Regions from separate parts of the Homo sapiens genome. Here regions 1, 2, 4 and 5 are each linked to region 3. Evidence: promoter capture Hi-C in human tissues and cell types (Jung and others, 2019). All regions are on one chromosome and are shown on one strand. Each heading gives the region's core, a stretch centred on a gene start or on the middle of the fragment in contact. The rest is flanking DNA. Distances are from core to core; before and after follow the strand shown.

Evidence for each region. Contacts are between HindIII fragments. The study calls those that stand out against the background at their distance.
Region 1: a contact is called between the fragment with the promoter of OSM here and the fragment with the promoter of NF2 in region 3, in 1 of the 25 tissues and cell types used here (heart left ventricle).
Region 2: the fragment with the promoter of SF3A1 here is called in contact with the fragment with the promoter of NF2 in region 3 in 4 of the 25 tissues and cell types used here (IMR-90 fibroblasts, dorsolateral prefrontal cortex, lymphoblastoid cells and 1 more).
Region 4: the fragment with the promoter of PES1 here is called in contact with the fragment with the promoter of NF2 in region 3 in 1 of the 25 tissues and cell types used here (lymphoblastoid cells).
Region 5: a contact is called between the fragment with the promoter of SEC14L3 here and the fragment with the promoter of NF2 in region 3, in 2 of the 25 tissues and cell types used here (bladder and lymphoblastoid cells).

The regions. Positions count from the first base shown.
Region 1 is chr22:30,265,516-30,268,215 of GRCh38, forward strand. It overlaps OSM (oncostatin M), which reads right to left and starts at 1,336. Exons shown (of 3, transcript NM_020530.6): 1 at 1,251-1,336. The coding sequence starts at 1,284. RefSeq lists enhancers at 500-579, 640-739. The HindIII fragment of the contact is 14,267 bases long and covers 1-2,700 here.
Region 2 is chr22:30,355,471-30,358,170 of GRCh38, forward strand. It overlaps SF3A1 (splicing factor 3a subunit 1), which reads right to left and starts at 1,424. Exons shown (of 16, transcript NM_005877.6): 1 at 1,260-1,424. The coding sequence starts at 1,322. CCDC157 (coiled-coil domain containing 157) reads left to right here and starts at 1,537. Exons shown (of 12, transcript NM_001017437.5): 1 at 1,537-1,662. RefSeq lists a silencer at 1,121-1,370 and an enhancer at 2,306-2,700. The HindIII fragment of the contact is 21,616 bases long and covers 1-2,700 here.
Region 3 is chr22:29,602,297-29,604,996 of GRCh38, forward strand. It overlaps NF2 (NF2, moesin-ezrin-radixin like (MERLIN) tumor suppressor), which reads left to right and starts at 1,337. Exons shown (of 16, transcript NM_000268.4): 1 at 1,337-1,816. The coding sequence starts at 1,703. RefSeq lists an enhancer at 723-852 and a silencer at 1,103-1,682. The HindIII fragment of the contact is 17,440 bases long and covers 1-2,700 here.
Region 4 is chr22:30,590,610-30,593,309 of GRCh38, forward strand. It overlaps PES1 (pescadillo ribosomal biogenesis factor 1), which reads right to left and starts at 1,301. Exons shown (of 15, transcript NM_014303.4): 1 at 1,201-1,301. The coding sequence starts at 1,224. RefSeq lists enhancers at 1,129-1,844, 1,324-1,623, 1,844-1,923. The HindIII fragment of the contact is 28,649 bases long and covers 1-2,700 here.
Region 5 is chr22:30,470,690-30,473,389 of GRCh38, forward strand. It overlaps SEC14L3 (SEC14 like lipid binding 3), which reads right to left and starts at 1,328. Exons shown (of 12, transcript NM_174975.5): 1 at 1,216-1,328. The coding sequence starts at 1,269. The HindIII fragment of the contact is 19,065 bases long and covers 1-2,700 here.

The DNA.
Region 1 (2,700 bases), core at 86-2,585, 660 kb after region 3:
CAAGACCACTGGGCTAAAGACCGGCCACTGCCCTAGGACCTGCCTTGTCAGCTGCTCTGGCCATCCAGGTAGATGGGCCTGAGAGGGCTTCAGGGCAGGCAGCCCGGGAGCAGCTTGTGTCCTCAGCTCTGTCTAGAACCAGGAGAGGCTGCCTTTTCAACCAGAGGTGCAGCCTGGAACAGATGTGGAAGACCTTCCAGTCCATGTCCCCACTTTCCTGACAGGTAAACCAAGTCTCAGGAGAAGGTCCTACTCAGGTCACACAAGGCCAGGGCTCTCCCCTGACCTCTCTTGCCTCCCTCCTCTCTCCATAAGTGGCTCCTTCTGTCAGGCCCACCAGGGATGCTGTGAGCCTGTCAGAAGGTGTTGGGGGCGGGTACAGTTACCGCTCACCACCACCCCCAACGGGGCACCGGCAGCCACGTGGTCGGAAGGGGCCTATGGCGCAATGGCCCGGAAGGCAGTGACACCATCGTTCCCGTCCTAAGAACCATCCGGCCCTTTGGGGAAGACTGGCTGTTGGGGAGGGCCAAGGGGCCAGGCACCCAGGCTTAGCGACCCCACGGCACCCTCGCCGCCTCCCCAGGTATCTGCTGCCGGGCTCTGGCAGGGGCCTGTGCCTGTGGCAGCGCACGTGGGACTGGGGTTTCTGTGTGGCTGTGCATCTGGGTCTGTGTGCGGCGTGAGGGAGACCTGTTCCGTTCACCATGGGGACTCTGGTCTGCATGTGGGGGTTCCTGGGCTGGTGAGATCCAGGGCTGTAGATGACGTCATATGGCTGTGTGCGCATGTGGCCATGTGGGTGTGGCTGTGCATGCTGTGTGATTGTGTGGGCCCTGGGGCCCCCAGGCCTGGCTGACTTTCTATTCATCCCGGGCAAGCTGGAGGCCCCACAACCCCTCCACACCTCACACCACTTCCCTGCCCAGCTTCTGAGCCTCCCTCTCCTGCCCAGCCTCTTTGCCCATCCTATTCTCTCACCCCCTGGTTCCCAGAGTTGCCTCTACATCTTGACATCACCTCCCCCTGGAAGCCTTCCAGGGATGCCCCTTCTCTACCTGTGGAGATGCCAGGTTCTCAGTGGACCACTCTCTCTGCCTGACCTCCTGGCTCTCTCCCCTTCTCAGCATCCTTCTGCCTGGCGCCTGGCCTCCCCAGTTCCCGGAGGGCAGAGGGTGCCTCTGCTCCCCACCGGCACCCGTGGGCAGACCCAGCAGGCGGGTTCTGGCGGGGAGGAAGGAAGTACTTACTGAGCAGCGTCCTCTGTGTGAGCAGTACCCCCATGCTGGGTGCCCGTGCTCCGGCCCGCGCCCGCTGGGGGTGACACCTCTCGGCTGGGAGCCCTGCAGGCTGGCAGCCACTTTATGCCCGCTGGGGCGATTGGCCAACACCTCATGAGGTGGGTGGGGATGGGGAGGGGGGAGGGCAGGCCTTCTGGGAACATGACCCCAAAAACCAAAATTTCCACGGGCGGCCAATGGGCGCAGGGCGCGGTGTATGCCCGCTCCTCCTCCTGTTTTCTTCGAATTCGTTCTTCGAGGTCAGCCCTACGCCCAAGGATGATGTAAAACCGCAGCCTCAGCCTTCCTAGGGTGAGTGGGGAGGAAAAGGGTCCATGCCATCTTCAGGGAACTGGGCCAGGGATGGGCAGGAGGGACTTCGAGCTGGGCCTCTGGAGGCCCCAGGCCAGTCTTGGCCCAGGAGCCATTGGCCTCACAGGACACGGTGGTTGGGGGCTGAGGGGAGCGAGACATCTTCCTTCTTGAGTGCCCTTCCTGCCCTCTCGCCGGGGCTGTTGGGACATCTGTGAGCGGAAACCACCGGGCTCTGGGCACAGAGCCAGACGCAGGCTGGCAGCCCCGAGATTGTGGTTCAGGCCCCAGGACCAGCATCCCCCAGCCCGGCTCCCGACGGTCTCCTTTCCCCCATCGTGCACCCTCTGCCAGGCCCACTCCCCAAAGCCAGGCCTTGTCTTTGTAGGCAGGCTCCACTGGGGAGAACTGGACACTTGGAGCAAGAGAAACAGGAGGCCAGGGTTCAAGCCTGCTGAGGTGCTGTGTGACCTGAGGCAAGTCACTTAACCTCTCTGGGCCTCAGAGACCCACAACTATAAAATGAGGAGGAGAAAAGCCTTTCCCAGCCCACCTCACAGGGTTGCTGCCAGCATGGACATAAAAGGAAAAGACCTCTGAAGGAAAAAGCAAAGATGAAGGTCTGATTCCAAGTATTAGCTGTCGAGGGGGCGGGATGGGGGAAGGAGGAGATGGGGAAGCTGTGAGCTCAGAGGGGAAGCCGGGGAGGGGGAGTTGCCGCCTTGACAGTTGGGGACCAGGTTTCACTTTCTCTGAAAGATAGCGATCTTAGGTTGGTCCTCTGCGAAAGGGCCCTGGGAACAGCGCCTCCCTAGTCAAACTGCTACTTTACTGTGGGGTAAACTGAGGCCTGGGTGAAGGCAGACAGGGAGGCCAAGAGGCTGGCCCAGGCCTATAGACCCTGCCTGGTCAGCACATCTCCCAGGCCCAGAGGAGGGTCCTTGGCCTGCACCCTAAGAAGCCCGGGTGGGAGGAGGCCCTCAGGAGTCTGGGGAGTCAGGGTGGGACTCCTGGAGGCTGCCAGGGAGGCCTGAGCTGCTCCAGCTGGAGGGAGCATGGGGTCTGGGGCGCCTGAGCAAGGAGAGCTGGGGCAGCCAGAAAGGAGGAG
Region 2 (2,700 bases), core at 174-2,673, 750 kb after region 3:
GCGTGACTGGCCTCCCCTCATAGTGATTCTCCACACGTCTGCCTACCTGAATTTCTGAAACACAAATGTCACTATTTGGCTTAAAACACTCCCTTTTCTTCCCACTGTCTACAAGGAAAAGTTCAAATCCTAAGTAAGAATCGCATCTCCTGCCACTACGCTCCTAAGTCTATGCTTCAACACTTGTTCATTTACTCTTGATCAGAGACACCGTTTGATTCACCTCGGTGTCTTTGCGCATATTATCTGGCTATTACCTTATTTTCCCCCAATGCCTGGGAAAATGCCAGGGACACACGGGCACTTAAATATTTGTGGAAAAGGCATGGCTTCTTCAGTCATGTTCCCCCCCCCCGCCCCCCTTATTCTGAACCCAAAGCAATGATCAGCGTATGTGTTCAATAAATATTTGCTGGATGAATAAAGGATGCTATTTCCCTTCCCTAGTCACCTACCTGGCAAACTCCTATTCCTTCTTCTAAAAGAAATTTACCTCTCACTCTTGTGGGCTTCCCTACCTTAATATCCCTTCTAGCCCAGCAAACAATGTTCATTAGATTTGTACCTGAAACTTCTATCACAGGGCATATCACACCATACTACAATGGTTTGTGCACATTCGAGATTGGAGAGCTTTATTAAGGGCGGGCTGGCACTGTATCATCGATGGCCATTGGGACAACAAACATTTGGTGAGCATTCTCATATGTCTGTCTTCTCGTTAGCCTGTGAGCTCCCTAGGCAGGGACCATGCCCCATTCATTCCGGTAATGTGGGAGCCTGGCACGGTGTCTGGCTTGGGGCAGACACCGAAATAGATGCTGAGAATTAACATCCAAAGATGTACCGTGCAGGCTGGGAAATTAGCCATTACTGGGGAAAGGCTGTGGCCGGCGGCCCCAACTGCTACATAAGATCAGAGGATGGGCTGGATCAGCGCCTCTCGCACTTATAAATCAATCACCTTAGGATTTTGTTCAAATGTAGATTCCTATTTAAAAGATCTACGGCGGAGACTCCACATTTCTAAGAAGCTCCCGGCTCGTGCCGACGGGGCTGCTCCGCGGACCACTTAGAGAATCCCGTTCAGGGTGGCTCATTTCGCTACCAGAACACCACCATAGCGCGGGAAGCGCGCAGCCTCTTGGGACTTGCAGTCCCTCCAAGCCCTTCATAGCGGCCGGCCGCTTATTCCTGTGCGAGTAAGGAGCGCCCAGGCCAACCCTCCGGCTGCAGGCTGAGGGGCGGGGGAGAGGTACCTGTTTGGGCTCCGTGGGCACGGGCGGCGGCGGGGGCACCGCCTGCACGGGTCCGGCCGGCATGACTGCGACGCTCAGGGCTGCCAGTCCGCCTCGGTGTCGGTGAGCGGTGCCGCCTCAAGACAGCCTCCCCGCTCGGTCAGTACGACGAGCTCGCAAGATGGCGGCGGCCGAGCGAGTTGCGGCCGCGAAGGTACGACTGGCGCACTTCCGGGACCGTCCCCTCGCCGTGACGCGCTTCCCGCCCCTCCCCGCGGGCACCGCGGCGTCCGACGCCGTTGCCAAGGCAGCGGCCTGAGCGCCCGGCTAGGGCTTTTCGGGGATCCCGGTGGCCGCAGGCGCACCGGGGGCAGTTCCGGGAGCCGACCAGACACGAAGGCTGAAGCCGCGACGCCGAAGACAGGTGAGATGTTGTACGTCACCCGCCGGACCCCCGCCGCACTCACCTCGCGGCTCCTTTACTCCACAGGCCAGTACCTCGCTCCCTTCGACCCCGCCTTCCAAGAGCCCAGCTCCCTCCCATTGGTCTCTCATTTAGGAGAGCCCCTGTCCCCTCAGGCTCACCGCCTAAGAGCCCCACTTCCCTACTCCCTTAGTCCCCCCTTTCATTTCAGACCCACATCCTCCAAGCCCCGCTTCCAAATCCTACGCCCTTAATTCGCTTTTCCCACGGAACCTGCCTTTTCTTGCTTCCATCCCCTGCCTTCCGTAGTCCCGCCCTCAAGCCCCACTGGGGGCCTCCCTCTCAAATCAAGGCTGCTGCTTTCTTTGTCTTTCTTTTTTCTTTTTTTCTGAGACAAGGTCTTGCTCTGTCACCCAGGCTGGAGTGCAGTGGCGCGATCTTGACTCTCTGCAACCTCCGCCTCCCGAGTTCAAGCGATTCTCCTGCCTCAGCCTCCCGAGTGGCTGGGACTACAGGCGCCCACCACACCCGGCTAATTTTTTTTTTTTTTTTTTTGGCATTTTTAGTAGAGACGGGGTTTCACCATGCTGGCCAGGCTGGTCTGGAACTCCTGACCTCAAATGATCCGCCCGCCTCGGCTTCCCAAAGTGTTAGGGTTACAGGCGTGAGCCACCGCGCCCGGCCAGTTTTTAAATTTTTTTTTTTGTAGGGACATGGGAGGACGTCTCCCTATGTTGCCCAGGCTGGTCTCAAACTCCTGGGGTCAAGCGATCCTCCCGCCTTGGCCTCCCAAAGTGCTGGGATTACACGCATGAGCCATCACGCAGGGCTGCTGCTTTAGGCTTCACCCCTCACTCTCACAGATGCAGCCCTGCAAGCTATGCGGCTCGCTCCCCAGAGGCCTACCTCGAATCCCGCCGGCTTCTCTCCCTCTCCTGCGATTCCCCCCTCTCTCCTTCCTCCTCTCCTCAACTCTGGAAAGCGGGGAGCTGGCTCCGAACCTGTTCCTGGACTTCAGTTTCCTCACCTGTGAAATGA
Region 3 (2,700 bases), core at 87-2,586:
CCGAGACCGCCCCATTGTACTCCAGCCTGGGCAACAAGAGCGAAACTCTGTCTCAAAACAAAAAACAAACGAAAAAACACAGTAAATTGTCCCTATTTGACTACTAAGAGCTATTTTAAAATAGAATTTATTATCTAAGTACAGAAAGGTGTAATTATCCCCCCTACACCCGTTAGAACCCTTGATGACACTAAATAAATAATACATGAATACGGTTCAAAAATGGGCATCATAGAGTATAAAATAAAGAATGCTTTCATTTTCAACCCAAATTCAGCAATTTCATAGGATGCCAGGCTCAGCTCTAAAGCCTTATATGTATTCAGTGCGCTGAAATTCAACAACCTCACGAGGTAGGTATAACCAATAATAATTCTAGGCGGGGCGTGGTGGCTCACGCCTGTAATCCTAGCACTTCGGGAGGCCGAGGCGGGCGGATCACCTGAGGTTCGAGACCAGCCTGACGAACATGGAGAAACCCCGTCTCTAATAAAAATACAAAATTAGCCGGGCGTGGTGACGCATACCTGTAATCCCAGCTACTCGGGAGGCTGACGCCGGAAAATCGCTTGAACCCGGGAGGCGGAGGTTGCAGTGAGCCGAGATCGCGCCACTGCACTCCAGCCTGGGCAACAAGAGCGAAACTCCGTCCCAATAATAATAATAATTAATAATAATAATAATAACAATAATAATAATAATTCTAAAGGGAAGCAGAGGGATCTGGCGGGAAAGTGCCAGCAAACCTAACAGGCCTCCACAAGTGTCTTTAAAGTTTCATAGGGGTCGGTATATGTGATTAACTGCCAAAGAAGAATATTCGCCGTGTGTCCGAAACGCAGTCCCCTGGGGCGCCACACTCGGAGCCTACTTGAACCGAAGAGTCCCTCCCTGGGCCAACGAAGGACCCAATTCCCCTCGCCCCGGATCCAGCCTCTAAGTGGTTTCCCGGGTAAGGTCAGCAGAGGTCCGCCGCCTCAACCAGTCTTGTTAGAGTAGGCACAAAAGCATTCAGAGTGACTGCCACTGTAGCCACTCAACGCCGAGCCTAGGCCTGCTTTTTTTGCAGTTAGAGTGAAACTTTCCATTGGTGGAGTCACCCCAAAGGAGGCGGGACGGAGCGGGAAAGTCCTGCCTACCTTGGCCTTCCCAGCCAATCGCAGCATCTATGCGTCAGCCTCCGGTTCGGTTGCGCTGCGCGTAGTGGTCTGGGCGACCTGAGGGCGGGGCCGGGAGCAGGCCCCGGGCTGTGGGGAGGGTGCGCTTCCCGCGGGCGCGCGGAGTGAGGACGGTGACAGCCACGCGCGCGCGTACGCGCCCGATGCAGCGCGGCCCCGTGACCCTAGTCGGCCGCTGAGAGGCGCGCGGAGTCTGGGCCGCTGCCGTCTAGGGGTCCCGTCCCGAGGCGTCCCCGGCATCTCCGGCCCGAATCCCGGAGTGCCGGGTCGCGCCTGCACCGAAGGTCCCGGCTCCTGTGCCCTCCCTGCAGCCGTCAGGGCCCGTCCCCCAACTCCCCTTTCCGCTCAGGCAGGGTCCTCGCGGCCCATGCTGGCCGCTGGGGACCCGCGCAGCCCAGACCGTTCCCGGGCCGGGCAGCCGGCCACCATGGTGGCCCTGAGGCCTGTGCAGCAACTCCAGGGGGGCTAAAGGGCTCAGAGTGCAGGCCGTGGGGCGCGAGGGTCCCGGGCCTGAGCCCCGCGCCATGGCCGGGGCCATCGCTTCCCGCATGAGCTTCAGCTCTCTCAAGAGGAAGCAACCCAAGACGTTCACCGTGAGGATCGTCACCATGGACGCCGAGATGGAGTTCAATTGCGAGGTAACCGGCCGGCAGCCCCGACTGCTGCGGTGACAGTCGAGGTGGAAGCTCGAGAGGTTCTCTTTATATCATCTTATGGGTGTAGCTAGAGACGGGCAGAACCGGAAGGGCCAACTAGGCCCAAAACCTCATGTTAAAGATGATTGCTGCTTTTTTTCATAGGACTTTTGGGTTTTGGCATTTCCTGAAGGTTATTTTCATTCATTGTTATTGGAAGAAGCTGGATGCTCCTGTGATAGAAAATTCAGGATTTCAGTGTCAGGCTTAAGTTAGGCTTACGCTTAAAAGCTTGAAAGTTTATTCTTTCATTAGGTAATATTGTTATGTACCCAGGTATTAGAAGTTGCGTCTTGTTTATTGGAAAGCCAATACTTGTTTCCCTTTTCTAAAGCTTGCATATTCTGGGAAAAAAAACCCTTTGAAGAACGATATAACATCTCATACTTACTTTCCACATAGTTTCCAACATGATGATAACAGCTATCAATTGTTCAGTATTTTCAAAGTGCTAGACATTTGCACATTTAATCCTCAGAACAAACCCATTTATCTAGTAAATGGCAAGGTGGGGTTTTGAACCAAGCTCACAGCCCGTACAGTACTGCTTCTCAAGTAATTTAAGTTCTTGCTGCTAAAAGTGTGGTTTGTGGACCAGCAGCATTGGCAGCAGTAAGCAAGGGTTGGCATGCTTTTTCTGTACAGGACCACATAGTAAATATTTTCAACTTTGTAGACTAGAGAATCTCTGTTGGAGTTATTCAACTCTTCAACTCTACCATTGTAACACAAAAGCAGCCTTAGATAAGATCAGCTTCCAGCATGACAGCTTAAGGAACCCATTCCTCTGTAAAACTGGTGAAAATTCTTTTTTGTTTTGTTTCGTT
Region 4 (2,700 bases), core at 51-2,550, 990 kb after region 3:
TTATCCTTATAAATGTTAAGGGAATAAATAGTTCTCAATGGGGTACTCCCTGGGTATGTGCTGGGGGGAGGAGAGTTCAGCAATGTTTGGAGACATTTTTGGTTGCTGGGTGCTACTGGTATCCAGTAGGTAAAGGATCAGGGATGTTGCCAAATATCCTACTACACACAAGACAATCCTTCCCACAACAAAGACTCATCTTTGTTGATTCTGGCTCTGAAACCCAGCTTTTAAAAACTGTAACGATTTTGTTACATATCTACATCTGCAACTCAAGGGCAGGTTTTCCATCTTGTATCTTTGCAGTTCCGATGGCTAGCACTGGATACTCAATGTAGTGTGTTGGGTTAAGAACACTGGCAATAGAAACTTTCACTCTGAAAGAAACACTTAAGCCAACTATATATTCCTCATTCCCATTCCCTTCCCAGTCTTTTCATGTCACTGGGCCGATTCTCCATACAGCCACAAGAACTCCCTGAAAAACTCTAATCGTGTTACTCCTCCTTTTTTTCCTACTGCACGTAGAATAAAATCCAAGCTCTACACTATTCCTACTGCACTTAGAATAAAATCCAAGCTTACAGGCCTTGCACGATACAGTACGTGTCCAACCCCAATCTTATCAGATGCCATTCTTTTCTTGGTTTACATGCGAGTCATCCTAATGTCCTTCCAACTCCTTACACACAGCAAGCCTTCCCTGCCTACTGATCTTGGCACTTGGTTTCCCTTGTCAGGCCTGCTCGCTAAGCACTCCCATGCCCCAGAACCCATCCAAGACGTTCTGATCTTTCCCATTTCAGCCGAAATGTTATGCCTCGAAGAGAACTTCCAAGACAACACTAACCAACTAATGTAACGGTGCAGTAACGGTGAGCTCTACGTAATGTTTATCACCCTTTCGGTAAATAGTGGTCCCACGGCTCGGCCTGCTTTTGGAATGAAGCTACGCTTGGTAAGTTCAACTCTCTTTCACAGCCCTCTCCACAGAAAGAACTCTGGAGTTCGTTCTCGGATTTCACTAAACGAATACTGCCATCCTTGTCCATTCTCGGACCCCTTCTCGCAGCTGATTACGGTCACGTCGATCCCGTCTTTCCAGTCTCCACGAGACGGAGCCCGGGAAAAGAGTCGACCCCATGCTCTGCCGCCCCCGCACCCCACCCCTCGGGAATCCCCACCGTCTTTCCCAATCACCTTCTTCTTCTCAAGGCCTCCCATCGCTCCACGTTGAGGAGCCGACTAGGGCCGCGCGTACAGGGAGCTCCACTTCCTCCCGCACGTGCCCTGCCAAGGACCCCGAGGACCCTCCCCACCCCACGCTGTCTGTTTGTGCGGGCTGCCCAATGAGATGCCTGTACAAGTCCAGGGAAAGATGGGGATTTCCTCCTCAAGATTTAAAACTATAGTCTGAAAAAAATCACTGAGAACACTCTTTCCAGATCTTTCCCGCTCACAATGGTTACAAACACTTTAAGTGTTAAAACAAACGTGGATATACAGGCTTTTCTGTAATCACCCTGATGACGATTCATTGACTGTGAGCCTCGTTGCATGTTGGGACGGAGAGGGGCGGAAGGCTTAGGGACAGCGCGGTGCCTTCTGGGATGCAGAGGGGCGCCGCACTCCATGGTGCGCGATAGGATTGCGTTGTCAAGGTAACGGTTGCTAAGCGTCGTCAGACTTCGGCTGCCGCTGCTGAGAAGCGGTTCCCGAGGGGCAGGGTGAGACTGCGCTGAGTTCCCACCGGCTTCGGGTTCTCTTTGGTTCATTCGCGGTTATGCGGCTAAAATAGAAAAAAGGAAGACATTTTTCCTCGCGGAGGTATAGAGATCCTAGAGGCCACTTATATTTTCTGAGCCTTAGTGGTGGACTCGTGGTATATTTAAAATGTACATTCAAGGCTGGGAGCGGTGGCGCACGCCTGTAATCCCAGCACTTTGGGAGGCCAAGACAGGCGGATCATCTGAGGTCAGGAGTTCGAGACCAGTGTGACCAATATAGTGAAACCCCGTCTCTGCTAAAAATACAAAAATTAGCTGGCCATGGTGGCACACGCCTGTAATCCCAGCTACTCGGGAGGCTGACGCAGGAGAATCGCTTGAACCTGGGAGGCAGAGGTTGCAGTGAGCCGAGATCTTGCCACTGCACTCCAGCCTGGGCGACAGAGTGAGACTCCATCTCAAAAATAAATAAATAAATAAAATTAAATGTACATTCAACATATTCGAGCTTTTAATTTGTACACATAAATTCTGTAAGTGTTCCTCAAATAATAATTCCAAGATTTATACAAATAGTCACATCACCTTGAGATGGTGCAGTCTGGAAGTAGATGCAATTTTAAGAGGTTTTTTTTTTTTTAAACGTTTCTCCCTTTTTCCAAATTCCAAATTTCGTTCGAAGATGATCTCAAAAGTTTAAATTTGAGGCTCTTGTGAATGTGACCTGGCCCAAGGACTTGGTCTTAGAACTTACACAGAGACAGACGTTAAGCACTGGTGAATACTTGTTTTGAACTATGTGACTTGCACTATCTAATTTAAAGCTAAAATTTAAAACCCAGCAATTCCACAGTTAAAAATGAGATGAAGCCGGGCACGGTCGCTCACACCTGTAATCCCAGCACTTTGAGAGGCTGAGGCAGGCGGATCACCTGAGATCAGGAGTTTGAGACCAGCCTGGCCAACATGGCGA
Region 5 (2,700 bases), core at 78-2,577, 870 kb after region 3:
CCACATTGATGAAAGGATGGGTTAATGGTTGAATAGAAGGGCAGATGGATCACTGGATAGGTGGATGAATGGAAGGAGGATAGATGGATGAATAAATGGTTAGAAAGAAGAATAGATGGGTGAGTGGGTAGGTAGATGGAAAAAGGGAGAAGAAATCAATGGATGAATGGATAGATGGATGGATGGAGAGTGGGTGGGTGGATAAATCAGTGAATGGACAGAGGAGAGATGGGTGGGTGATTGAGAGAAAGAAAGATGGATAGGTGGCTGCGTGGGTAGGAAGAGGGATGGGTGGATGAAAGAAAGGATAAACAGCCAGGTATGGTGGCTCACGCCTGTCATCCCAGCACTTTAGGAGGCTGAGGTTGGTGGATCACCTGAGGTCAGGAGTTTGAGACCAGCCTGGCCAACATGGTGAAAACTCATCTCTACTAAAAATACAAAAATTAGCCAGGTGTGGTGGCACATGCCTGTAATCCCAGCTACTCAGGAGGCTGAGGCAGGAGAATTGCTTGAACCTGGGAGACAGAGGCTGCAGTGAGCTGAGATCGCTCCACAGCACTCCAGCCTGGATGACAGAGACTCCATCTCAAAAAAAAGAAGAAAAAGAAGAAGAAAGGATAAATAATTGGGTGGATGAATAAGTGGATTGGAGTTTGGATGCATTCTTAGTTCCCTCCATGTGTTAGCCCTCAAAACATCTGCTTTTTTTCATCCCATCTTCTATTAAAACATGGTTAATAATTATATGTCCTCTTCTTCCTTTAGCTCTTTGAAAGACAACACTTTCTGCTCTGTCTCTTGGGCTTTTACAGACTGGTCATCTTTCAGGATCCCAAAGAGGAAGGGGTTAAAGGGCAGACCAGCAGCATCTTTCAGCTCCTACCTATGGTGCCTGGGAGGGAGGAACGGGGGTACCTGGCTGCCAGGTAAACCTCTCTGGTTCTGGCTCCTGGATGAGAAGAAGTCAGGCTTGACTTGGGTGGGCACCACCCACGTTATTGCCTGGAAGTGGTGCTAGTCCCTCAACCCCCGCCCGGGACAGGGTTGATGTTACTGGGCACCGTGGGGCTTGACCCTTTGGGAGGTAACACCAAAGAGACAATGTCAAGGACATGCTGAATCAACTGAGTGGGGCAGGATTCCAGCCACTTCTTTCCACCCCCCAGCCCCTTTCCCCTGGTCTTCCGGAACTCCAGGGGGAGGGGCTCTCACCTTGGCCAGGGTCTCTGCCTGTTTGGGGCTCAGGTCTCCAACTCGGCCGCTCATGGTGCTGGCTGGGGCTTGAGGAGTGGTGGCCACTATAGGCAAGAGGCCAAGCCTAGTTTGTCAGCCCTGACCCAGCTGGGTCCTTTTGCCCCCACTCCTGGGCGTGGCTCCAAGCGCCTCCTCATGGGCCAACTGTTTAAATTGCAGATTACATAATTGGGATTAAGTGAGGTCCCCTGCTTGGCTTGGGGACAGATCTGGAGGGGCAGGCGGGCATGGAGCGTGTGCCAGAGGTCCCCTGCCAGGAGGAGGCAGCTGGGAGGAAGGGAGGCTGGCCTCCCGTGACCTTGGAGCCCAGAGTGAGTGCCTGTAGAACCCGCTGACCCTCCCAGGCCTCCAGTGACCACTGCCCTGGAGAAGGGGGAGTTTCAGGAGAATGAGGACCGCTCCTTGTGGGTACCCTTTCTCCCTGAGCCCCAGTCTTCCCACACTTAGGATTCTGCAAAGATCACCCCCCTCTACCCAGCTCTGAAAGGGTAGGATTCTGAGGCTTGGTCAGTGTAGTAAACAGTTCATTCACTTTGTTGGGGGTGGGAGGCCCAGGTCCTTCTTTTGTGTCCACAGTCAAGAAGAGGACAGATGGCATCTTTTGAACGTCACTTGCTTCATTTATAAAATGGGGCCGTTAATGTTTGCCTTCCCCTCCTTATGTGGTTAGAGGGAAGATCTAATGAGACATAGGGACTGTCAAGGGTTGTGTGCATCTGAGGGATACTCTCCTTCAGCTCTCCTGGTCCCCCCTGGAGCTGTAAGCTTCAGCTCCAGGAAGGGAGAGACCCTGTTATCCATGACTCTCTCTGAAGAAACCATCAGCTTGAGGCTGCAGCATGGCCACATGGCCACATGGCCACATCTCAGCCTTGAGGGGGTCTGCATGGGCTGAAACCAACCCCGGGCTAGCCTCGGCCCCAGCAGCTGGGCTAGCCCACACCATTCTGCCTAGGGCTTTTCTAGGTCCCCTACTCCTGGGGCATCCTGGGTACCCACCCCTGAGCTACAGTGGGCCTCTATTCTGGGCTAACCCAGGGTCTCTTTAGGCTAGTAGATGTTGGTCAGTATCAGACATCTTCTCAGGGACATCTTCCTTGCTCTGGGCTCCTCACAGAGTTGGATCCAGAAGGAGAAGGCAGGGCTAATGCTGGCCATTTCCCTCTGCCTGGGGAGCCCGTGGCATGTACTCAGGAACAGTTAGGTAACTCTCCACACCCCAGCCCTGCCCCATTTCACATTCCAGCCTCAATTTCTGCAAAGCCCCAGCTGCTGTCTACACCCACTTCCTGCCAGGCCAGTAATGTACAGAGATTGGGTTCCTCCACTGCCCTTTCCCGAGCCACTAATCCTGCCCATTTCTCACCAGTCTCCTTTCTCACCCTAATCCCTATAATGTGAGGTGTGCTAGTTACTTCTAGGGGCATCGGAGACTGTGAAGGA